2 separate regions of the Homo sapiens genome follow, and region 1 is linked to region 2. The links are contacts of gene promoters, found by promoter capture Hi-C in blood cells and fetal thymus (Javierre and others, 2016). All regions are on one chromosome and are shown on one strand. The core of a region is centred on a gene start or on the middle of the fragment in contact, and the rest is flanking DNA. Distances in the headings are between cores, read along the strand shown. Region 1 overlaps LRRC34 (leucine rich repeat containing 34). Region 2 holds the start of EIF5A2 (eukaryotic translation initiation factor 5A2).

Evidence for each region. The method cuts DNA at HindIII sites, captures the fragments that hold promoters and counts their contacts. A CHiCAGO score of 5 or more calls a contact.
Region 1: a contact is called between a fragment that was not itself captured here and the fragment with the promoter of EIF5A2 in region 2, in 1 of 17 cell types (total CD8 T cells). The highest score is 5.6, in total CD8 T cells.

Annotation. Positions count from the first base shown.
Region 1 is chr3:169,807,851-169,811,881 of GRCh38, reverse strand. It overlaps LRRC34 (leucine rich repeat containing 34), which reads left to right. Exons shown (of 11, transcript NM_001172779.2): 2 at 3,137-3,254. Among named protein-coding and RNA genes, the nearest start is that of LRRIQ4, 3.0 kb to the left of the region's middle. RefSeq lists a cis regulatory region at 3,398 and an enhancer at 3,326-3,470. The HindIII fragment of the contact is 228 bases long and covers 1,137-1,364 here.
Region 2 is chr3:170,906,768-170,910,355 of GRCh38, reverse strand. It overlaps EIF5A2 (eukaryotic translation initiation factor 5A2), which reads left to right and starts at 1,719. Exons shown (of 5, transcript NM_020390.6): 1 at 1,719-1,813; 2 at 2,515-2,714; 3 at 3,263-3,367. The coding sequence starts at 2,550. RefSeq lists a silencer at 2,059-2,198. The HindIII fragment of the contact is 11,425 bases long and covers 1-3,588 here.

The sequences.
Region 1 (4,031 bases), core at 1-2,500, 1.1 Mb after region 2:
CTGTTTGTGGATACGGAACTGTGTTCGGAGGCTGGCTTAATAATACTGCATCCAGGAGATGGGCAGTGTTAGGCTCTGCCTTTAGCATGAGAGGAAATTTAAGCTGGCATAACAACTTGTTCAAATGTACACACTGCGGATTCTGGATAGGGCACCCACGTTCTGACTCATGCTTATCGCTTAGATTTCCCAGTGCTTGGCTAAGTATAGAAAAGCATGTTTTGGAGGGATCTACCTCCTAAGTAAGTCCTCTCTCTGGAAATTGTTAAAACGTGGCTGCCAGAGGCGTGGATGAAAAAATGAAATTTGGGTTAGGTTCTTGACATTTTCCTGCGTAGCTGGGTTATTTCCTAGTTTTTGCTTTACAATTTGAAGGCTATTTTCCTTCTAATATGAATACAATATAGGAAATAAATTCATTGGTGCCACAAAATCCTGGCATACAAAATACGTAGGTGAATTTTAAATCAAAGGAAGGGTAGCAGAAACTTTTAAATACTGTAAATCTCTGGCTAGCTTGTTAAATAAGAATATTTCCATAACTTTGTTTAGCTGTATTTAGCTCGTAGTCTAAGATTCCTTCATGCCTTCGCGAAAATGAATTGTAGTCTGACACATTTCTGTGCCCTCGGAGATTCTCAGGGCAATTTTTCTCTTAATACCAAGGAAGACAGTAGGGAAGAAAGAAGCCCAGTGGGAGCCCAGCTCCAACTTCTATTTGGGATCTACTTGCTTTGTTTCCTGGGGAGGACGCTAAAGCAGCATTTTCTAGATTGCATTCCAAGTGAGGTTTTTGTTTTGTTTTGTTTTTGAGATGGAGTCTCCTCTGTCGCCCAGGCTGGAGTGCAGTGGCGCGATCTCTGCCCACTGCAACCTTGTAACCTCCACCTCCCGCATTCAAGCGATTCTGTCGCCTCAGCCTCCGAAGTAGCTGGGACTACAGGCATGCGCCACCACACCAGCTAATTTTTGTATTTTTGGTAGAGATAGGGTTTCACCATATTGGCCAGGCTGGTCTCGAACTCCTGGCCTCAAGTGATCCGCTCGCCTCGGCCTCCCAAAGTGCTGGGATTACAGGCGTAAGCCACCGCACCCGGCCGGAAATGCAGCATTCTTATCCTCCCTATTCTCAAGCTTAACAGTTTGCAGAGTGTGCACGTTTTAAATGCCCTGAGAAGTGTTGTGTCTGTGTATAGTTTTGTTTATTTTAGTACTTCTCAGACTTACTTGATAATAAGACCTATTCTATTTGGAACACCTTTGATCATCCTGTAGAACATGCATATTCCACAAAATACAGTTTGGGAAATATTGTGCTACAATATCATTTAAATACATGAAAATTTTCTAAAATAGGTGAAGCTTTTTTTAATACGTACATCTATCCACATGACAGAAATTATGCTATTTAAATTTTTCAGAGAATATCTAGTGACATGGGAAAACTGCTTACAATATAATGTTAATTTAAAAAACAGCATATAAAGTTATATCCAAAGATTCCAATTTTGTTTAAAAAATACTTAATATGCATATAAAAGAAAAACTATAGGAAGTATGTATGCCTAGACCTCAATTGTGGTTGTTCTTTGGCAGTGGGATTGCAGATTAACATGTATTTTTTTTTAATGTTAGAAATTTCCGGTCGGGCTCAGTGGCTCACCTGTAATCCCAGCACTTTGGGAGGCTGAGGCAGGCTGATCACTTGAGGTCAGGAGTTTGAGACCAGCCTGGCCAACATGGTGAAACCCCGTCTTTATAGCTGGGTGTGGTGGTGTGTGCCTGTAGTCCCAGCTACTCGGGAGGCTGAGGCAGGAGAATCGCTTGAACCCGGGAGGCAGAGGTTGCAGTGAGCCGAGATTGCGCTCCTGCTCTCCAGCTTGGGTGGCAGATCAAGAACCTATCTCAAAAAAAAAAAAAAAAGAAATTTCCAAATTGTCTGGAATAAGTATATTAAATTTATTTTTAAAAAGGTTATTAAAAACTATAAGAAAATTTTGTTTGCTTTCATCTGAAATGTAATGTTCCTCATGTTAAATCTCGTTCTGCAGATCCGTTTAGCAAACTCATTATTCTTCAGAGTGCAAAGGACACTCAGTAAACAACATTTCTGAGATGTAGAGACTTAGAAGAGAAGCCAGCTCCTAAAAAGCTAGGCTGGTTGAGCAATGAGATCTCTGTGCACAAATTTTTAAAAGACATCCACAAAAGGTAGATGTATAGAAAACAAAGACAGTGGCCTGTACTTCTAAGAAAAGTAACAGCATAACTTCCACCCCAGAAGATGTAGGCCTTGCAGAAGATGCTTTTGAGGTATTACTGAGAACAGCAAGGTCATTAAGGAAATCTGCATGTATAACAGAAAGGAGATCTCAACTCCTGCTTTGTGTCTGTCTTCTTAAGAACTTAGGGAAAAGTCACCTTTAGAAAGAGGAAATGGAAGGCTGGGTAGGAGAAGAGCTTCTGTGAGCCAGGCCTCGATTTGGTATGAAGAAATGACAGTTACATTCAAACTTGGGATGGTGTAGAGGGTATCCAAGAAGCTTGTGGGAGTAGGTGCTTTATCAGATCCCTTTTGAGTTAGGTTATTAGATAAAATTGTTTTTATGTGAAGCTATTTTAAGAAACCTTTTCCTCTCGTGGATGCTGAGATACTGAGTTGAAAAAAAAAAAAAAAAAAAAGAAACCTTGAGTCCCTGTAACCCATTAGGGCACAGTGGAAAGAGGTTTTGGAATCAGTTTGATTCTGCACTCTGCCTTTATTAGCTGCATGGTTTTGGACAAAATATACAATTTCTTTGGAAGTCATTTTCCTCAGCTACCAGGCCTGGCACATAATGGAGCTTAGTTCTCCCTTTATGTCACTTCCAACGTAGGGTGCTCACTTGAGCCAGTGTCTGCCAAGCCTCAATGGGTGCTTCAATGGCCCTAGTTCTCCAAACAGCATTTTAATTATCTCTCCCATTCATTATTTTTATTTCTCTTCTCTTTTTCTAACCTTAATTCTGTTTCCTTTTCTTCCCTACCCCCACTATACACACATACAACTCATATATTTGAAAGAGGTAGTTTTTATGGTTTTTTTTAAAGCTTCTAGAATAATTTATATGTGATAGAGGATGCATATATTTTTCAGAATCTCCAGAATCTGGTCTCCAGAAACATTATTCTAATCTGTGTATGGAAAAATCCCAGAAAATTAATCCTTTTATATTGCATATACTCCAAGAAGTGGATGAAGAAATTAAAAAGGGGTAAGAAAGACAAATACTTGATTACATTAATAGTGTTTGCTTATATTCATGTGTGTGAAAATCCTAACATATTGAGTGATTTTATAGCCATTTGAAAATGCTTGGTAAAATGAACATACCATTTGATTCAGGTAAGTAAGTACACGAGCAACACTGTTAGTAGGTCTTAGAGGTGGTATAGTATTCAGGAAAGAGCACTAGACCAGGAGTACCCAAGCTTGGGCTCCAGAGTGATCTTTAACTTCTGTGGGTGGGGTGAATCTTTTTTTTTTGTTTGTGGGCAGGGTGAATCTTTTTTTTTTTTTTTTTTTTCTGAGATGGTGCCTCCCTCTGTCGCCCAGGCTAGAGTGCAGTGGCGTGATCTCGGCTCACTGCAAACTCAGCCTCCTGGGTTCAAGCAATTCTCCTGCCTTGGCCTCCCGAGCAGCTGGGATTACAGGTGCTCGCCACCATGCCCGGCTAATTTTTGTATTTTTTAGTAGAGACAGGGTTTCACCATGTTGGCCAGGCTGGTCTCGAACTTCTGACCTCAGGTGATCAGCCCGCCTTGGCCTCCCAAAGTGCTGGGATTACAGGCGTGAACCACCACGCCTAACCTGAGCTGGGTGAGTCTAAGCAAATCACTGAAGTTTTCAGTGTTATCTATAAAGTGGGGATACTGTTTGTGTGAGTGTGAGTGTGTGTGAGAGAGCTAAATATATGGAATCTTTTAAAGCACTTTGCAGTCTGCAGAATGTTCAGTAGTTTTAAGTTACCTGGTATAAATATACTGTATAA
Region 2 (3,588 bases), core at 470-2,969:
GGGACAAATTTTTCTTTATATGAATAACTTAACAAGGTTAAAAATAGAAAGCAGCAGTGACAAACAAAGGAATAATGCACATCAAAAATTTAGTACACTACCTGCCTATATAAATACTAAATACTATTAGCGATCATTGTAAAAACAATAGGGAAAAGTTAGGAGGTATAAGGAAAAGCAGAAAGAGCTAATGAACCAAGATTCTAATCTGGCTCTTTCTTTTTGGGGTGTTGGGGGTGGGGGGGGTGGTCTCACTCTGTCAGCCAGGTTGGAGTACAGTGGCCGGATCTCGGCTCACTGCAGTCTCCACCTCCCAGGCTCAAGTGATCCTCCCACCTCAACCTCCCTAGTAGCTGGGACCACAGGTGCACAGCACCATGCCCAGCTAAGTTTTCGTATTTTTGGTAGAGACGGGGTTTCACGATGCTGCCCAGGCTGATCTCGAACTCCTGAGCTCAGGGAACCCACCTGCCTCAGCCTCCCAACGTGCTGGGATTACAGGCATGAGCCACTGCTGTAATGGCTCCTTTGTATATTAGCTAGAGGCTGAATTCAGTACATGAGAGGGCAGTAACTTATTGCGAAAGTTAAATTGGACCTGTTTGAAAGATATGTGTAAACTGTAGAGTCATACAGGAATGTGAGATATGGGATTATTCATGAGACAGCAATAGGAAATCAAAGTTACCACATAAATGCGGGTGTGGGATGGGAAATAATTTCCTAGATCACCTCCCCAAGATAGGATACTGCGGTAGGTTGCGAAATGAAACTGTGAAGGGGGAGCACATCTCTTTTAAGAACCTTTCTATGGCAGTCTACAAGCTCTAGGTCAATTTTGAAGACCATCCAAGCGTTCTAATGTGCCAGGGTTAAACCCCAAACTCTAAGGAATGCCAATGCCAGGAGGAAAGAATGGATGAGTCGGCAGAACACCTCTCTGGACCCACAATGCCGTAGGAGTCAGACACCCTTCGCCTCCACAACTTCCCAACAGCCTTTGGTGTGAGAAGTGGGTTAATTCATTTCACTGCTGGCTTGTTAGCTGGCGGACGCTTCGGGAGTTCCCACCCCAGGGAGCAGTGCTGACTCTACAGGGGCATCCGGCGGCAGTCGCTGCCAAAAATCTCACCAAGGGGTGAATGGGGGGTCCTCAGGACCTGCGGTGCCGAGCTGGGTAATAAAATACTGCACCTGAATTCTTCTTTAAGGACCAGGAGGAGGTTCGAACCCCAAGAAAGGCTGCAAGCTGAACCAGAAGCTCGAACCCAAAGTTCGCTTCACAGCCAGCCACACTGGCACTCGCTGAATCTGCGCGCCTCGCGAGTTCTGACGATCGTCATGTGATAACTGCCACGCACCTGATGGCAGGGGCCATTGGGTGCTTTGCTTGGTTCCCATTAAAGTCGACTGCGACCCGAACGCAACAAACCTAAGAGTTGGAAGGCGCAAGTTCCTCTGCCAGCGAGCTCACCCTCGGCAACCAGACTGCTGAAAGTGCGCTCCACGCCGGAAGTGCACTAATCCGCAGCACGTGGGGTTGCCAGGGCGCTCTTCACGTGACTGGGCGGAGCCTCGGGAATCTGGTAGCCAATGGTAGCCCGAGAGGGCGGTGCCTGTGACGCTCCGGGGCCTATCCCGGAAATAGGGCTGAGTGGGGGCGGGTAAGGGCGGGGAGGCTGGGGTGTGGAAAGTGTGGCGGCCCCGCCCCGTCTCTTGGAACTGCCGCGGCCGCCACCGCCGCTGCCGGCGCCGCTGCTGTAGGGGACCAGCGCGGGTGCGCAGACGAAAGGCGCTCTTTGCCAGCTGAAAGGTGAAGACCTGGGGAAAAGCTGGTGGGGAAAAGCTGGTGGGGATGGGGCCAGAGTGAGGCAGGGCCGGGGAAGGCGCCCAGAACTGAGCGCTGACCGAGAGAAAGAAGGAGAATGGATGGGGGAACAGAGGCGAGCGCGGGACCCGCCGGGGCTCAGGCCCTAGTGGGGCCGGGCCGGGCCGAGCTGAGCCCTGGATGCCGGCAGAACAGGGGGCGCCTGTGCGGCCGCGGCGGCGACGTTGAAGGGTGGAGGGCGGGGTGCGCGCCAGCTAGCAGAGGGCCGGGTGCTGCTGGCCAGGTTCTGTTACCCCGCATCCTTCGCGGGGACCTGCGGCCTGGGCTGGGTCCCCCGCAGTAGGGTTCGGGGCGGCGGCCGAGGGCTGGGCGGCGGGGGAAGGTCGCCGGCTTCTGCGGTGGGGCGATGGGGGCCGCAACCTGCTGTTTCCAGCACGGAGGAGCGCCCAGGGCGGGTGTCCCCACCCTCAGCGAGCTCCTCTGCGACTTCTCATCCCACCTCCCCAAGCAGTAGCTGGAAAAGTTTGTAGAGGCCAGAGTTAGAAAGTGGCCACTAGTCTAGGGTGGGTGTTCCTTACATGCAGAAATAACGGGCCCATGATGCTTGGCACATAACTTGTCCGAAATGAGACGTTTCCCTGCCTACATACCCGTTGTTAAAAAGCAAACACAAACTTTTTGTGTAGTTCCCACGGAAAAACTACCATCTCCCCTGCCCACCATGGCAGACGAAATTGATTTCACTACTGGAGATGCCGGGGCTTCCAGCACTTACCCTATGCAGTGCTCGGCCTTGCGCAAAAACGGCTTCGTGGTGCTCAAAGGACGACCATGCAAAATAGTGGAGATGTCAACTTCCAAAACTGGAAAGCATGGTCATGCCAAGGTAAGTACCCTTGCAGATCAGGCTTTGGCTTCGGCGTTGGGACTTTGATCATTTGTATTCCGTTACAGATCATGAGATTTCTATACTTAAAATTTTGTAATAAGCACTATTTTTTCCTTCCCACAATTACTGGGTAATCAGTTATTACGTTGAATACTTAAAGGTAGCATTCCCTTCTTGGGCCCTTACAATGTTCATTAACTGGGAACTGAAACTTTCCTGAATCCTAGTGACCTATAAGATCTATTTAGTTTACAGATGAGAAAACCTGTTCTAGCAATTCTAAGAAATCTACACTTTATTTTTCTTGTGTAATCTCATAATTGAATCACTGGTCTATATTGGGTCTTGACATGTCGTGATACTGTTTAGTTGTTTACTGCCTCTTAATTGTAAGACCACTACATTTTTTTTTAAGTAAAATTAGATGACCTTGGAAGGAGGAGAAAAAGAATCTGTTGTAATCAGCATTGGTATTGTGCTCTTGTGTGTGTAATGAGTGATATACTTGGCAGAGATTAAACAGGTTTCCTGTTCTCCTCTGTTAGGTTCACCTTGTTGGAATTGATATTTTCACGGGCAAAAAATATGAAGATATTTGTCCTTCTACTCACAACATGGATGTTCCAAATATTAAGAGAAATGATTATCAAGTAAGCACTGATTTTCTTTAGAATGTTGCTTGTTTCTTCAAGGTGCAAATACTTTGTACTATCAGTAATAATTTGACAAAACCCAAGAGTAGTTTTGTAGGTTTTTCTAACCAATTATTAGGCACCAGCTATCTTAGAAATTGGAGAAATAGTGATGTTTAACACATGTACTTTTCTAGGATTATTGCTAGTTTGCTATTTTTTTCACATTCTTGCATTTT